Linked DNA regions of Homo sapiens: regions 1, 3 and 4 are each linked to region 2. Evidence: promoter capture Hi-C in 16 types of primary human blood cells and fetal thymus (Javierre and others, 2016). All regions are on one chromosome and are shown on one strand. The core of a region is centred on a gene start or on the middle of the fragment in contact, and the rest is flanking DNA. Distances in the headings are between cores, read along the strand shown.

Region 1 (3,686 bases), core at 703-3,202, 1.0 Mb before region 2:
ACAACATAGGCACTAAACAAGCTATAATACGTGAGAACTGGAGACAGTCTGGGTTGAAAACTAAAAAGGGATCTGTGTGATTCAATACAGCACTAAACAGGGCTCCTTGATTATTTCAGAGACTGGGAACTTCATGTTCTAAACCTTGCTTTTTTCATAACCGTGTGACTGTGGTGTCTTAATCTCTCTATGGTTGAGCAAGGGACTACAACCGTATCATCAGACCCCCTCCTTTGATATACTTTGTGAATTGGGCTCCATCCTAAAGTTTAAGAAAGGAGCTAGAGTTAGAAAAATGCACAATTGCCTCTCAACTGTAAATCCCTTCAAATCCACAGTAAGAAATGAAACAGATGAAACTGTTGAACAAACATTTCCTTTTCTGTGTAGGAATGTGGTCATCACAAAAGAGAACTACTAGTTAAATTACAACCTTACGCTGGTGCTTACGTGAGCTTCTGTCTTTCTCCTGTTGACCTTCAGGAAGCTACAATGATGATTAGTATCTAATTTGGAAATTAATTACCTTATCTAGTTTTGAGACGTACTAGTTTCAAGAGACTGACGAGAATTGTGCCAAATTTGCTCCCTCAAATTCTTATATCATAGAAAGTGGCCATTATTGGAGATATATATATATATATTTTAACCTTTTAAAAGGTTGTTTGACTATAAAAGCCCATATCACTCTTAATTTGTGATTTGTGCCAGGTCAGGGAAGAAAGCCCAGACTTAAATGTGGCCAGAAACCACAGTGCAGAAAGATTTAACAGTCCTCCCCACATTTTAGAATGAGTTGGAAAGGAGTCAAAATTTAATCTTAAAATCTCACAAATGCTTTATGACTACAATTAGTGCTCAAAGCTATCAGGTGGTGTAGACATGCACTACTATTATAGAAACTGAGTAGTACATCTAGGTTTCCCAACAGAAAGATTTCTTTGAGGCTAAACTCATCATAAATGGTAAGGACCTTTCCTTCCTTCCTCCCTCCTTCCCTCCTTTCCTTCCTTCTTTCTTCTGTCTTTCTTTCTCTTTTTTTTTTTTTTTTTTTTTTGACAGAGTCTCGCTCTATGGCCCAGGCTGGAATGCAGTGGCATGATCTTGGCTCACTACGACCTCTGTCTCCCGGGTTCAAGCAATTCTCCTGCCTCAGCTTCCTGAGTAGCTGAGATTACAGGTGCACACCACCACGCCCAGCGAATTTTTGTATTTTTAGTAGAGACAGAGTTTCACCATGTTGGCCAGGCTGGTCTGGAATTCCTGGCCTCAAATGATCCACCACCCACCGTGGGCTCCCAAGGTTCTGGGATTACAGTCACGAGCCACTGTGCTGGCCAGGATCTATTTTTTATTAAAATAATTAAATATATTTCATTATATGATAAATAGAAATTGGAAGAGACAAGGAACAGATTCTCCCTTGGAGCCTCCAGCCCTGCTAACATCTTAATTTTAGCCCGGTAAGACTGACTTCAGACTGCTGACCTTCAAATCTGTAAGAGAATCAATTTGTGCTATTTTAAGCCAGTACATTGTGGGGATTTGTTATAGCAGTAATAGGAAACCAATACAATCCTCATTTCAAAATAGTTCCCAATATGGCCGCTGCAGTGGCACACCTGTAATCCCAGTACTTTGGGAGGCCTTGGCAGGAGGATTGCTTGAGCACAGGAGTTCGAGCAGCCAGCCTGGGTAACATAGTGAGACCTTGTCTGTTAAAAAAAAAAAAAAAAAAAGATCTTTTAAAAAATTTCTAATATATTATTTTTTATTAGACTATTGGACGTCTGGAGGGTATGTGGGCAGTAGGAGATGAAATCCTTTTGTCTCTGTGGGTGGCGGTGTTCAAATATTTTCCACTTTGGTATTTCAAAAGCTTTGTAATGTGTTGTGTTTATTTTATTCATCTGTTTTTGTCTCCCTTTATCAAGCTCTCTGGCTACATAGCCCATCATATTTTTTCTACTCTTATTTAAGAAACTGTCTCATGAAGAGCTGTCTGAGTCAGGGAAGAGTCAAAATCGAAGCTTCTATTTGTGCCTTTTGTCACAAACCTCCCACACTTGTTCCATTCTTCCTTCACACTCCAAGTCTTTTAGTCTTTCTCTTTCTCAAGATGTCCCCCTCCTCTTATATCTCCTTTTCTGTCCCTCTGCTCCACTTACTTCCACTTAATTGATCACTGTTTTCTTCTCCTCTTTTGCTCTGGAGCTCTCTCTCACCTGTCATATTCTTGAGTTTCCACCTGATCTTGTTCAAGAGTCCAGACCCTTTGCCTACTTCACCCTCCAGAATTTCTCAGCCAGTGGTTGAATCTCAACCAGAGGCGTCAGAAGTTCTCAGAGTTTGAAAGGGTTTCAAAGATTATTCTAACCATTCACGTTTGAAGTCTCCCCTCCTGCCTGACATATTTGATAAATAAATAATTTCCTTCTTTCCAAAAGTTGTTTTTTATTTCTTTTTACTTTATTTTTTTGAAACAGGGTTTTGGTCTGTTGCCCAGGCTGGAGTGCAGTGGCACAATCATAGCTCTCTGCAGCCTCTAACTCCTGGGCTCAATGATCCTCCTGCCCCAGCCTCCCAAAGCACTGGGATTACAGGCGTGAACCACTGCACCCTGTCTGTGTCTGTTTTGTCCTACCTGTTTGTCAGGCCTATGCTCAGCCTTTGCCTGAGATCCCCAGGATGGCGGGTCACTCCTTTATGAGGCAGTCTACCCTGACTTTGGACAGCTCTGATGGAGAAGGAGTTCTTCTTTCTGCTGAGATAGCAATCTTTTTCCTTCTAAGTCTGATCCATGAGTTTAATTCTATCCCTTATGTCACTTGTAACAATATCATTTCCTTATCCACATGCTAGTCCTCCAATATTTGAAGATAATCTTCACATCCCCTACTGAGTTTTCCTCTGCTCCAGGCTTAATATCTCTAGTCTTTTGAACTATTTCACAAATGATGAATTTTAGCTTTGTGGTTACCCTCTTCTGATTTTTTTGGTCCCTGCTTCACTTAGAGTGATGTGCAGGGCTGACTGAATACACCAGAGCAGAGGGTCACTGTTACTGCTCATTACGCCAGTGCTGTCTAATAGAACTTTCGGTGATTAGGAAAATGTTCTGTATCTGTGCTGTCCAATCATAACCACCTGTGGTTATTGGGCATTTGACATACGGCTGATGAGAATGAAGAACTGAACTTCTAATTTTACTTTAATTATTTTAAATTTAAATAGCTGCGTATGGCCAGCGGTGATCACATTGGGCAGCACAATTCTAGATGTTATATTTGTAATAATGTAGTTTAATTTTGCATGGTTTTGGAGTAGCCATAGGTTCATCTTGAGTTTACTTCTCTGAAAACTCTTAATTCTTTACTGATGCTAAACCAGTTTGTTGTCACTTGTCATATAAGTACAATTGTCATATAATAGGAGAAACCTATTTTGTGTTTCTCCCTGGCTAGCATGTTAAAATGGCATGTTTTCCACCATTCTTAATTCTGACTTGTGGCCATCTATGTATTCTGAGTCTAGCTCAGTACTCTCTTCTCATTGTACTTCTTGGTTTCCTGATTCTGACCCTGAAGTCTGGAATCCAGATTTTGAGTTGGTATTCTTTAGGTCTTCTGCTTGTTCTTACATTATATATGCCATTTATTTATTCTATATGTTTATATGGAGCACCT
Region 2 (3,681 bases), core at 502-3,001:
TCAGTTAGATTTCCTACAAAAGATAAAGTAATGTGCCTATGAAAATGAGAATTTGGTCTTTGGTTAACCTGGCTGTACTGGAGAGCACTGAACCCATCTCGAGATGCCAATGACACTTCTGAGTTTGCAAGCCAGTGCCCTAGATAGACTCTGGAATTCACCCAGGAAGCGCGGACTAATCAGCTTTCTCTGAAGATAACTGCTCACACACCCAGCCAACTATTTTAAACTAGAACTGATGTTCCTATTGGATTAAAGCCTGACACGAAGTATGTATTTTTCAGTTTAAGCACAGGACAGTTAGTTTTATGAAGTATTTTGAAAATGCATGAACTTAATGATTTAATATTAAAAGCTTATGGAGATATCCTAAACGGCAACTTAAATTACTCTTCCAGATAAAACATATATGGTACTTACATATACTCTTTATTAAATAAACAAAAACAATCCAACAACTGCTTGTCACCTTTTTAAGTATATTTTTATACTTACAGCATATATGTAAACAATATATTTTTCTTTCAAAAGTTAGTTATTACAGGATGCATTAACAAGATGCCCTCTGGGAAAATTTCAGCTTTCTTTTAATGAAACTTATTTCAAGGTTAAGTTAAAAGAAGTCACACTAAAGGGAAATCTGTTGTCTTCTTCGGGAAAATGATATAAGAATATTAATAATCTAATAGAATAAATATGCTTTCAATAATGAAACAAAAAAACACAACTTCGCAGCTGGCTATTTTTATTGTCCTTTGAAGAATTCTCTCCCAAGCTACTGAAACTTAAAGTATCACACTGTGACAGACTTTAATCCCATCTTACCTGGTGTCCACATTTCTAAAGAAGCTGCTTATTGCCTCATCATAAATTCCTTTCTAAAAAGAAAAACATATGTTAATAGCATTTAGGTTTTGCTTCTCGCCCAAATCAAGTTCTTTCAATTTTAATTACATAATACTGTAATGGCTAGGATGAGACTCTGATAAGAAAAACCAAGTATCACAAAATGCGGAGCCTGACTCTTCCCAATCTCCTTAGAAGAGTAAATGCCAGATCTACAGATAAAAAGTTCAGCAGGGGGTGCTAAAGAAAGGATTTCACCCATAGGACTGTAGGACAGGTCCATCAAATGAGCGTTCTCTGGATTCTTCGTAATCTTTTTAAAAGCTGACTGGTTAAATTAAGGAATACAATAACCACACGTGTTATCTATTTTACAAAGTACTTTCCCATATACAAATCTCACTGTTCTGCACACGAACACCAATAAAGAGGAGACCCTGAGAATCAGGAAAAACGTTAAGACTAAGGTCGCTGGCCAGTGTTCTTTTAGTTTAGTGTGTGTCTGACGCAACATGTTTAAAAACCAGTACGTTCTTTACTGGGAAGATCCCATGCATCTTAAACGGGTCAGATGAAAGCTCAAGTCGATTATTTCCTGCGTATGGGCTGGAAGACCTAGCTGACAGGCGAGGGGGCTCGCGGCGGCGGGCGGGTACCTGGTTGACCGCGGCGTGCTCCCTTAGTGCCAGGTCCCAGAAGCAGCAGCCGATCTGGTTTCCGCACTGGCCGACTGCGACCGGAGGAGAGGAAGGAAAGAGAATAGGACATTAAGCAGGAAACATGGCCGCTGGATTCCGCGGCGACCAGGTCTCTACCCGCCCGGCGTAGCTTACCCTGTACGACCACCGACTGGGTCATGGTGGTGCGCCGCCGGCTCCGGGAGCTTGCTAGCCCGCGGCCGCTTCTGCATTCCCCCAGCAACGGCGCTCTGCTAGAGAGCTGCCGTAAGTCACGCTACTGCCGCAAGCCTCTGCCGTCGCTAAGCACGTCTGTAGGTTCAGGCTAAGGTTTTCCGTCAGAAGGCCGCGCAAGTGCACTTGCGTGTCACCGTTACCGTAGCGACTGGGCTTCTGGACTGTATATCCTAGCTGCCTTGTCAACATCTTCGAGCATCGGCAGCTCCGGAGGCCGGGGTAACTGGCAGGTAACTAGGCTTTGGAGTGGTATTTTAAAATATGTGTCGTTAAGCTGTTCGTGGGCTATCAGAGGTTTAATTTTTGTTCACAGCCTCAACACCCGGGGCGGTGGATCAGTCCGTTTATTCAGATTCCACGGGACGCTGCGTTGGCATCTCTGTTCAACAAGCCCTTTATTCTAATAGAAAATGAACAATGGCGTTGAGCAAAGAGAAACCCCAGAGAAATAGTCATGTCAGGGCACAATTGAAACTAGATGGTTATACGCTTTGACAAAAATGGCAAAGCTAAGGTCACAGACCCAACCAGTATTTGTTGAACGCTGTATACTCCCCAAATTAACTTGTAGGCTCGCTGGGAAGATTAGAAAGAAATTAAGGCATAGATCCAGTTCCAAGAAGCTTACAATCTAATTGAAGACATACACGCGAAATACTTAAAGAATTGTGTGGCGTTGACTATAAGTGCAATAGGATTCAGTGGTTGAGGATGTAGATGAGTATGTAGAAGTCTGATAGAAGACACGAGATTAACACTAGGCATTTAGATGGGTATTTAGATGGGATAGGCAGGAGAAGATTAAAAAGTTAGGCATTATGACAATTACCAACTACTTAAAATTGTCAAACATTAAAATATGTAAACTTCTATTGATCAAATTAGACCAGATTTTAATTAAGAACTCAAGTACTTCTTTAATGAAATTAATATTTTCCACAAAAATTCTGAAGAACTACGAAACTCTAAGAAGTCTTCTTTGTTTAATAAAAAGTTATATGGTATGTGCTATGAATATGTGCTAATATGAACTGTAATATTCAATGGATTAGAACACTTTATTGTCCCACCAAGACACGTAGTAGTTACTATTAAATTTCTCTGGTAGCCGGTAGGTTTAAAGTTGCAATGGATTTTATATCTTTTGGTAATAGGCAGCTTTCGGTCAGTAAATTTTTGTAGGCTGGATTTATTCTTAACTTCTTACTGAGTATGGGGTCAGTGGTAGAGGTAAAGTTGGGCATTTTAGGTCTTGATGCTAAAGTCCCAACGTCTGGGGCTTCCAAAATTTGCAAGTCTTGGTCCAGTTTGTAGGCAGTGATGTGAATAGGTCTGTATCAGTGTGTTATCAGTGCTAGGTGAGATGATACACTGGCCTTTGCAGAGCCCTACCCTTCATGCAGTCCCAGTCATTATTCCCCACACAGGAAAGAAAAGTCCTAACACATCTTATTAATAACTTCAGTCTCTAGAGAATCAGACTGAGAGACAGTTCTGCTTAAGAGCCAAGCAAGGTAGAGCCTCACATGCCAGCCACTCCAAAACTTCCGTATATGCAAACCCGGGTGAGCCAAGTTGAGATCGGTTGAACCGCAGCGGGCTATTCAGAATATTATAAGCAAGAGAAATGTTTTTGGTTGAAATTACTGAAATTTTGGGGTGCAGTTTTATTGTAGTGATAGCTGACCAACATACAGAGCAAATAGAGTGAACAGAATTCCACATGCTGAAAATGAAAAAGAAAAAAATTATTGGGAATCCTATGGACTCCTAAAATTGAAGGAAGGAAGACAAGGATGGAAGGGAGAGAGGGAGGGAAGGGGGAGAGGAAGGAAGGAACGATGTAAAAGATGGATAAAGTACAAGACCTTGGGGTAAAACCTAGCCTAAGAGGGGAGAAAAGAAAATTCATCATATCTAC
Region 3 (3,694 bases), core at 327-2,826, 1.1 Mb before region 2:
GACTACTTAAAGTTTGAAGAAAAAAGAAGAGTAAGAAAGAGTAAGAGAAAAAAAACAGCAACAGTATTTACTTGAGCCTTTTATTTTTTACTTAAAAAAAAGATTGGAAAGAGCAGTAATAAAAGAATGGTGGGAATACAAAAATGAAAGCTTTTTTTTAAAAGCTATCAAAACACTTATTTAACAATAATAAGGAAATATCTTTTACTAATATCTACCAAAAAAGTGAGATTTTGGCCGGCCCTTGTGGCTCGCACCTGTAATCCCAGCACTTTGGGAGCCGAGGTGAGCGGATCACCTGAGGTCAGTAGTTCGAGAATAGCCTGACCAACATGGCGAAACCCTGTCTCTGCTAAAAATACAAAAATTACCCAGGCGTGGTGGTGTGTGCCTGTAATTCTAGCTACTCGGGAGGCTGAGGCAGGAGAATTGCTTGAACTCAGGAGGTGGATGTTGCAGTGAGCCAAGATTGTGCCATCACTCTCCAGCCTGGGTGACAGAGTGAGACTCCATCTCAAAAACAAACAAAAAAAAACAAACAAAAAAAAGAAAGTGAGATTTTTTTTAAGGGTGGAACCCTAAGTGACAAATATGTTTTTAAGAATTTTCATATTAGTTAAGTCATGGCTTTGCAATGTGAGGAAAATGTTTAAATAGTTATGAATTGTGCTTTTCTGAACAGAAAGCCCAAAACGAAAAGAGCCAAGAGATTCCTTGAGAAGAGAGAACCGAAACTCAATGAAAATATTAAAAATGCCATGCTGATTAAAGGGGGAAATGCAAATGCAACAGTGACAAAAGTACTTAAAGATGTGGTAAGTATATATACTTAATCTTTAAAAGGTATTGAAGTCATTTTAGAATTTTCAGCATGCTAGGATGGGCTGTCGGAGAAATACGTAGATAAGCTTGCCTTACCATAAGAACTACTAGTCTTAGAGAAGAGCTAAAGTTGGGGGTTTATTTACCTTGCGTGGCACCTTTTCTTAAAGCAACTAGTTCTCTTAGTAAATTTTATTATTGTTTTTTAGGAGCACAGGTGGGTCTGGTAGAGTGAAGGTCTCCCTTAGTAAATTTAAACTGTTTTCAATTACTAGAATTTGGCTTACTTACATTTTAGGAAAAAATCTAATTTGTAAAGAGAAGTAACTGCATATTGCTGTATATTTAGTCATTCAACAACACCGGTTACTGTGCCTCTGCTGGGAATTAATAGGTGAGACACAGTTCTTTCAGTGAGCTTAGAGAGATAGACATGTAAAAAGTTCTTACACTGTGCTGTGCTGGAGGCATGGACAGGGTAGGGTGGGAAACAGTTAAAATCACATAGGGGAGGCCAGGCACGGTGGTTCACGCCTGTAATCCCAGCACTTTGGGAGGCCGAGGCAGGAGGATCACGAAGTCAGAAGTTCGAGACCAGCCTGGCCAACATGGTGAAACCCCGTCTCTACTAAAAGTACAAAAATTAGCCGGGTGTGGTGGCGGGCGCCTGTAGTCCCAGTTGCTCGGGAGGCTGAGGCAGGAGAATCGCCTGAACCTGGGAGGTGGAGGTCACAGTCAGTCGAGATTGTGCCACTGCTCCAGCCTGAGTGACAGAGAGAGACTCCATTTCAAAAAAAAAAAAAAAAAATCACATAGGGGGACCCCCACACAGGGTAGGTTCCCCCAGAGATAACACTGCAGCTTCATTTTGAAGGAGAAGTTGGTGCAAGAAGTGGGAGAGAAAGAGAAGATCCTCTGAGGCTGAGAAAGAAGTTTGTGCAAAAGGGAGTATGAAGGAGCATTGATGCATTTGGAGAACTGTAAATAATTGGGCATGGCCAAAGGAGAGTGGGCTAGATGAGGCTAGAAGAGGAGGCATGGGTCACATAGTAACATGAAATTTGAATTCTAATCTGAAAGCTCCGTGTAATCATTGAAAGATATTAAGCAAGAGATACCATCAGTCCTTTTAATTGGCTTGATTAGAGAGGGTTGAGAGCAAATGTAGGAAACTAAGCCATTGCTGCCAGCTAGGTGAAGAGCATCTGGAGTCCAGTGGTGGCAATGAAAATGAGAAATGACCAGAAAGAATAGATGTTGAGGAAAGAAGAGTTGGGAACTAGTGAAAAGTATGACTTCCCAGGTGTTTGGCTTGAGTGCCTGATGGGCAATAATGCCAATTAGAAAATGTATCAAGCGGAGCAGGTTTGGAGGGAAAGGTGAAAGGTTCGGTTTGGGACATGTAATTTAAGTAATGAAAATAAAAGCTTTGTTTTTTCTACCTCTGTAGCCTAGTGTACAGCCCAGTGTCTGGACATAGTAGGTACTCAATATATATGTAATCTATGAAAGAAAGGCATAGTATGGGCCAGGCACAGTGGCTCACACCTGTAATCCCAGCACTTTGGGAGGCCGAGGTGGGCGGATCACGGGGTCAGGAGTTCGAGACCAGCCTGGCTAACACGGTGAAATCCTGTCTCTACTAAAAATGCAAAAATTAGCCAGCCATGGTGGTGGGCGCCTGTAATCCCAGCTACTAGGGAGGCTGAGGCCGGAAAATCTGCTTGGACCTGGGAGATGGAGGTTGGAGTGAGCTGAGACCACGCCATTGCACTTACTCCAGCCTGGGTAACAGAGCAAGACTCCAACTAAAAAAAAAAAAAAGACATAGTATGTGGAGATATCTAGTAGGTTATTTGACTAATTAGGCCTTGAGTACAGCCAATAGATCTTTGAATTAAATCAATTAAGTAATCGAATACATTTTTGTTGTTGTTATTGAGGTGGAGTCTCACGCTGTTGCCCAGGCTGAAGTGCAGTGGTGCCATCTTGGCTTACTGCAACCTCTGACTCCCGGGTTCAGGCGATTCTCCTGCCTCTAGCCTCCCAAGTAGCTGGGAGCCACCACACCCAGCTAATTTCTGTGTTCTTTTAGTAGAGACAGGGTTTCACCATGTTGGCCAGGCTGGTCACAAACTCCTGACCTGACATGATCTGTCCGCCTCGGCCTCCCAAAGTGCTGAGATTACAGGAGTGAGCCACCATGCCTGGCTTTGAATATATTTTAAACTTGACCAAACTCTATGCCTGATAAGCATAGTCAATTCAGATGTCTGAATGCCTTATATAGGCCCATCCCTTTTTTGAAATGTTTGTCTGAATTTCATTGTGCTAACGGGAAACTGCCCCTCTCCTTCTAGTATCCATCAGCACAATGACCCTGCATATTTAAGTAAGCTTTAAAAGCAGCACAATATTACAGATTACTACAATAATTAAAATTCATCATGATGACTCTGAGTCATCAAGAAGAGGTGGCAATGTTTATTACACGGAAACAGGGAAATAGTTGGCCAAGAATCATCAAAAGTTTTAGTACTTAAAAAGGTAGATTTTACTGTTGCATTTTCTTTGTTCACCAACTCTGATAGTTGATGAATGATTATTATACCTTATTTTTCATTGTTTCCCTCATTTACCCATTTCTCTAATGCAAGGTAGTACCTGATGACATCTTTGTTATTCTCTATGGTAGAGCAGTACTGGCCATACAAGTAATAAATGATTATAGGCCAGGTGTGGTGGCTCACACCTGTAATCCCAGCACTTTGGGAGGCTGAGGTGGGAGGATCACTTAAGCCTAGGATGACAGCCTGGACAACAAAGTGAGACCCCATCTCTATAAATTAAATTTAAAAAAATAATAAAATAC
Region 4 (3,721 bases), core at 976-3,475, 1.1 Mb before region 2:
AGGAAAATAAGGAAACACGGTTTTTCTTAAATATCAAAGTTTGTGGTTGCAGTTCACACCCCAGGAAATACAGTGAAAAACAAAGCAGAAAGAGATGAAGAACATAGCAATAGATGTGTTTACAGAACAAGGGTTATTGATCCTAATGTCATTAAAGTCTTACCATAGAATGATGTGGCTGACCCAGTTTAATCAGGTGTGCAGCTCCCTAGCTCTTTAACTCCTCTTCAACTCTATTAAGGCTGGATGCTCAATCTCATTCTGTTGACTCTTAACTAGCCTGATGCAGAGGTTGGCATCTCTACCTGCTTTCCCAGAAAAGACAATAGAGTGTAGTAAGTCAGATAAGTTTCCTAATTTTCTTTCTTTCTTTTTTGAGACGGAATCTCGCTCTGTCGCCAGGCTGGACTGCAGTGGCATGATCTTGGCTCACTGCAACCTCCGCCTCCTGGGTTCAAGTGATTCTCCTGCCTCAGCCTCCCGGCTGGGACTACAGGCGCATGCCACAACGCCCAGCTAATTTTTGCTTTTTTTTTTTTTTTTTTTTGAGATGGAGTCTTGCTCTGTCACCCAGGCTGGAGTGCAGTGGCACGATCTCGGCTCACTACAAGCTCCGCCTCCCGGGTTCATGCCATTCTCCTGCCTCAGCTGGGACTACAGGCATCCACCACCATGCCCGGCTAATTTTTTATATTTTTAGTAGAGACAGGGTTTCACCATGTTAGCCAGGATGGTCTTGATCTCCTGACCTCATGATCTGCCCGCCTCAGCCTCCCAAAGTGCTGGGATTACAGGCGTGAGCCACCGTGCCCAGCCTAATTTTTGTATTTTTAGTAGAGATGGGGTTTCACCATGTTGGCCAGGAAGGTCTCGATCTCTTGACCTTGTGATCCACCCGCCTCGGCCTCCCAAAGTGCTGGAATTACAAGTGTGAGCCATCGCTCCCGGCCAAGTTTCCTAATTTTCTAAGTGTCAGTTTCCCAAAGTGTAAAATGGAAGTTAGACTAATGAGGGCTGATATTTAGCTTGTATGCACTGATTAAAAACATACCAGTTGTTAAATTAGAGACATTTTTCCCGTATCAGCCAGTAACAAGCAACCACCGCAAGCCTTTAGCTCACTCCAGGCCTCCCCATGATCCAACTTTCCCAGGACCCTACCCCAGCATGGCTGAGTCGTTGTGCCCTGCTAGTTAATTGTTAAATAATCTTGATAATTCATTAAATGTCATTCTTGATAATAGTTATCTTTTGAGACTATCATGAGGCTGATAACCTATATGTCACACTTGGTAGTTTACTTTTAAAGTAAACTGGCTTCCAAATTAACTTGCCTTGGGGAGGTCTTGTGACTCATGGCAACATCCTATCCCTGAGTAAAGAATCTGTGCGCTCTTCAAATTGTTGACATACTGATTAATGCATAACTTACTGACAATGGAAAGGACACTGACTTCTGATCATGAAGTTTTACTGATTGTCTTGCACACAGACATTTTATCCTGCATGTTGCAATCTGTAGCCAATGACTGTAACTTCTGTACTGTCTGTACGCTCCAATAACTTTGGTATAAGGAGTACTCCTCCCTTCTCCTTCCCTCCCTCTCCTTCTCCTCCCTTCTCCTAAAAAAGGCCGTCCTTTTAAAAGCCTGTTCCAGTAACTTGTAACAGACTCCAGAACACTCCTAACTCTGGTTGGTGTGTCTTCCCAGTTCAATCCTCACATTTGGCTTCCAATAAATGTTTTTCAAATTATTTCTGCCTCAGCAGCCTTAGTTTCAGTAGACAAGGCTTAAAGTGGGTTCAGTTAAAGCAAACTAATAACACTTGACCCTTTCCAACTTTTCTTCCTCTCAGCCATGGGTCCTTAAGCCATCTTTTTTGGATCCAGAGCCAAATTATATTTCTATGCAGCCACCATGGTTCTAGCCCTTATCTAGCTTTCAAAGATTTTTCCTTGATCGCCCCAAGCAAATTTCCTCTGCTCTGTTCAGTTTAAAAGTGTTTCTATTCTTTTTTTAAACAAAAAACAAAAGGAAAAAAACAGCTTTATCAAGATATAATTCATATACCATAAAAATCACCCTTTAAAAATATACAGTTGGTTTTTTTTTTTTTTTTTGGTACATTAACAGAACTGTGCAACCATTGCCATTAATTTCAGAACATTTTCATCACCCAAAAAGAAACTCCTGGCTGCTCTGCCTATGGAGTAGCCCTTCTTTATTCCTTTACTTTCTTAATAAACTTGCTTTCACTTTTCTCAATGGACTCTCCCCAACTTCTTTCTTGTGTGAGGTCCAACAACCCTCTCTTGGGGTCTGGATCAGGACCCCTTTCCAGTAACATCTTCCTGGCAAACCATGAAGCAACTAAACTGAGGAGACTCCCAACCCAAAGGAAATAGACCGAAGCACCACAATTGGCTGACTTTGGAATCAAGAAAACTTTTCCTTTGAGCTATTTATAGCTTTTAAAAATTGAGTAAAGTATATTCCTGTGAACAAACTTTGGAGCATATTAGTCTCTCTCTACCTGTTTTCTCTAGAATTTGGAAACTATATCACCTTTTGTCAGAACTCAAGAGTTATGAGTGGCCCTCACCATACTGATGCTTTCTGACTAAGCTCCTCTCTACTCTGAATACAAGAGCCCCTCATAGTTAGGCAGGAATATAATTGCCCCTATTCATCCTGAAAAAGTGACAGAAAATGGATCTTCATCCCTCTACAACCCTTAGGATTAAGGGTTCCCTTGTAAAAGGGTGGGGGAATATGTCAGAGGCGTTTGAACTAGAGCAACTCCATCTTTAATAGGGGCTGGGTAAAATAAGACTGAGACCTACTGGGCTGCATTCCCATGAGGTTAGGCATTCTAAGTCACAGGATGAGATAGGAGGTCAGCACGAGATACAGGTCATAAAGACCTTGTGGATAAAACAAGATGAAGTAAAGAAGCTGGCCAAAACCCACCAAAACCAAGATGGTGACGAGAGTGACCTCTGGTCATCCTCATTGTTCATTATATGCTAATTATAATGCATTAGCATGCTAAAAGACAGTCCCACCAGCGCCATGACAGTTTACAGATCCCATGGCAATGTCCAGAAATTACCCTATATGGTCTAAGTCGGGGAGGAACCCTCAGTTCTGCGAATTGCCCACCCCTTTCCTGGAAAACTCATAAATAACCCACCCCTTGTTTAGCATATAATCAAAAATGAACTTAATTAAGTATTATCAGTAGAGCAGCCCAAACTGCTGCTCTGCCTATGGAGTAGCCATTCCTTTATTCCTTTACTTTCTTTTTTTTGAGACGGAGTTTCACTCTTGTCGCCCGGGCTGGAGTGCAGGGGCACGATCTTGGCTCACCACAACCTCCGCCTCTTGTGTTCAAGCGATTCTCCCACCTCAGTCTCCCAAGTAGCTGGGATTACAGGCACCCGCCACCACACCCAGCTAATTTTTGTATTTTTAGTGGAGACAGGGTTTTGCCATGTTGGCCAGCTGGTCTCGAACTCCTAACCTCAGGTGATCCACCTGCCTCGGCCTCCCAAAGTACTGGGATTACAGGCATGAGCCACCACACCCGGCTCCTTTACTTTCTTAATAAACTTGCTTTTACTTAAAAAAAAAAAAAAAAAAAGGAACTCCTCATCCAGTAGCAGTCGCTCCTCATTCCACCATCCTCCCAAGCCCCTGGCAACCACTAATCTCTCTCT

What was found. Contacts are between HindIII fragments. The CHiCAGO score rates a contact against its expected background, and 5 or more counts as called.
Region 1: a fragment that was not itself captured here is called in contact with the fragment with the promoter of TUBE1 in region 2 in 2 of 17 cell types (total CD4 T cells and non-activated CD4 T cells); the score reaches 5.3 in total CD4 T cells.
Region 3: a contact is called between a fragment that was not itself captured here and the fragment with the promoter of TUBE1 in region 2, in 5 of 17 cell types (total CD4 T cells, total CD8 T cells, naive CD4 T cells and 2 more). The highest score is 8.5, in total CD4 T cells.
Region 4: a fragment that was not itself captured here is called in contact with the fragment with the promoter of TUBE1 in region 2 in 2 of 17 cell types (naive CD4 T cells and naive CD8 T cells); the score reaches 6.2 in naive CD4 T cells.

The regions. Positions count from the first base shown.
Region 1 is chr6:111,070,396-111,074,081 of GRCh38, forward strand. No RefSeq gene overlaps it. Among named protein-coding and RNA genes, the nearest start is that of SLC16A10, 15 kb to the right of the region's middle. The HindIII fragment of the contact is 151 bases long and covers 1,878-2,028 here.
Region 2 is chr6:112,085,731-112,089,411 of GRCh38, forward strand. TUBE1 (tubulin epsilon 1) reads right to left here and starts at 1,752. Exons shown (of 12, transcript NM_016262.5): 1 at 1,680-1,752; 2 at 1,503-1,576; 3 at 826-878. The coding sequence starts at 1,704. It overlaps FAM229B (family with sequence similarity 229 member B), which reads left to right and starts at 1,861. Exons shown (of 4, transcript NM_001033564.3): 1 at 1,861-1,990. RefSeq lists enhancers at 1,282-1,331, 1,466-1,997, 1,732-1,921. The HindIII fragment of the contact is 2,028 bases long and covers 354-2,381 here.
Region 3 is chr6:110,984,324-110,988,017 of GRCh38, forward strand. It overlaps RPF2 (ribosome production factor 2 homolog), which reads left to right. Exons shown (of 10, transcript NM_032194.3): 2 at 683-815. Among named protein-coding and RNA genes, the nearest start is that of RPF2, 4.1 kb to the left of the region's middle. The HindIII fragment of the contact is 1,341 bases long and covers 907-2,247 here.
Region 4 is chr6:110,951,050-110,954,770 of GRCh38, forward strand. No RefSeq gene overlaps it. Among named protein-coding and RNA genes, the nearest start is that of GTF3C6, 5.8 kb to the right of the region's middle. The HindIII fragment of the contact is 4,472 bases long and covers 1-3,721 here.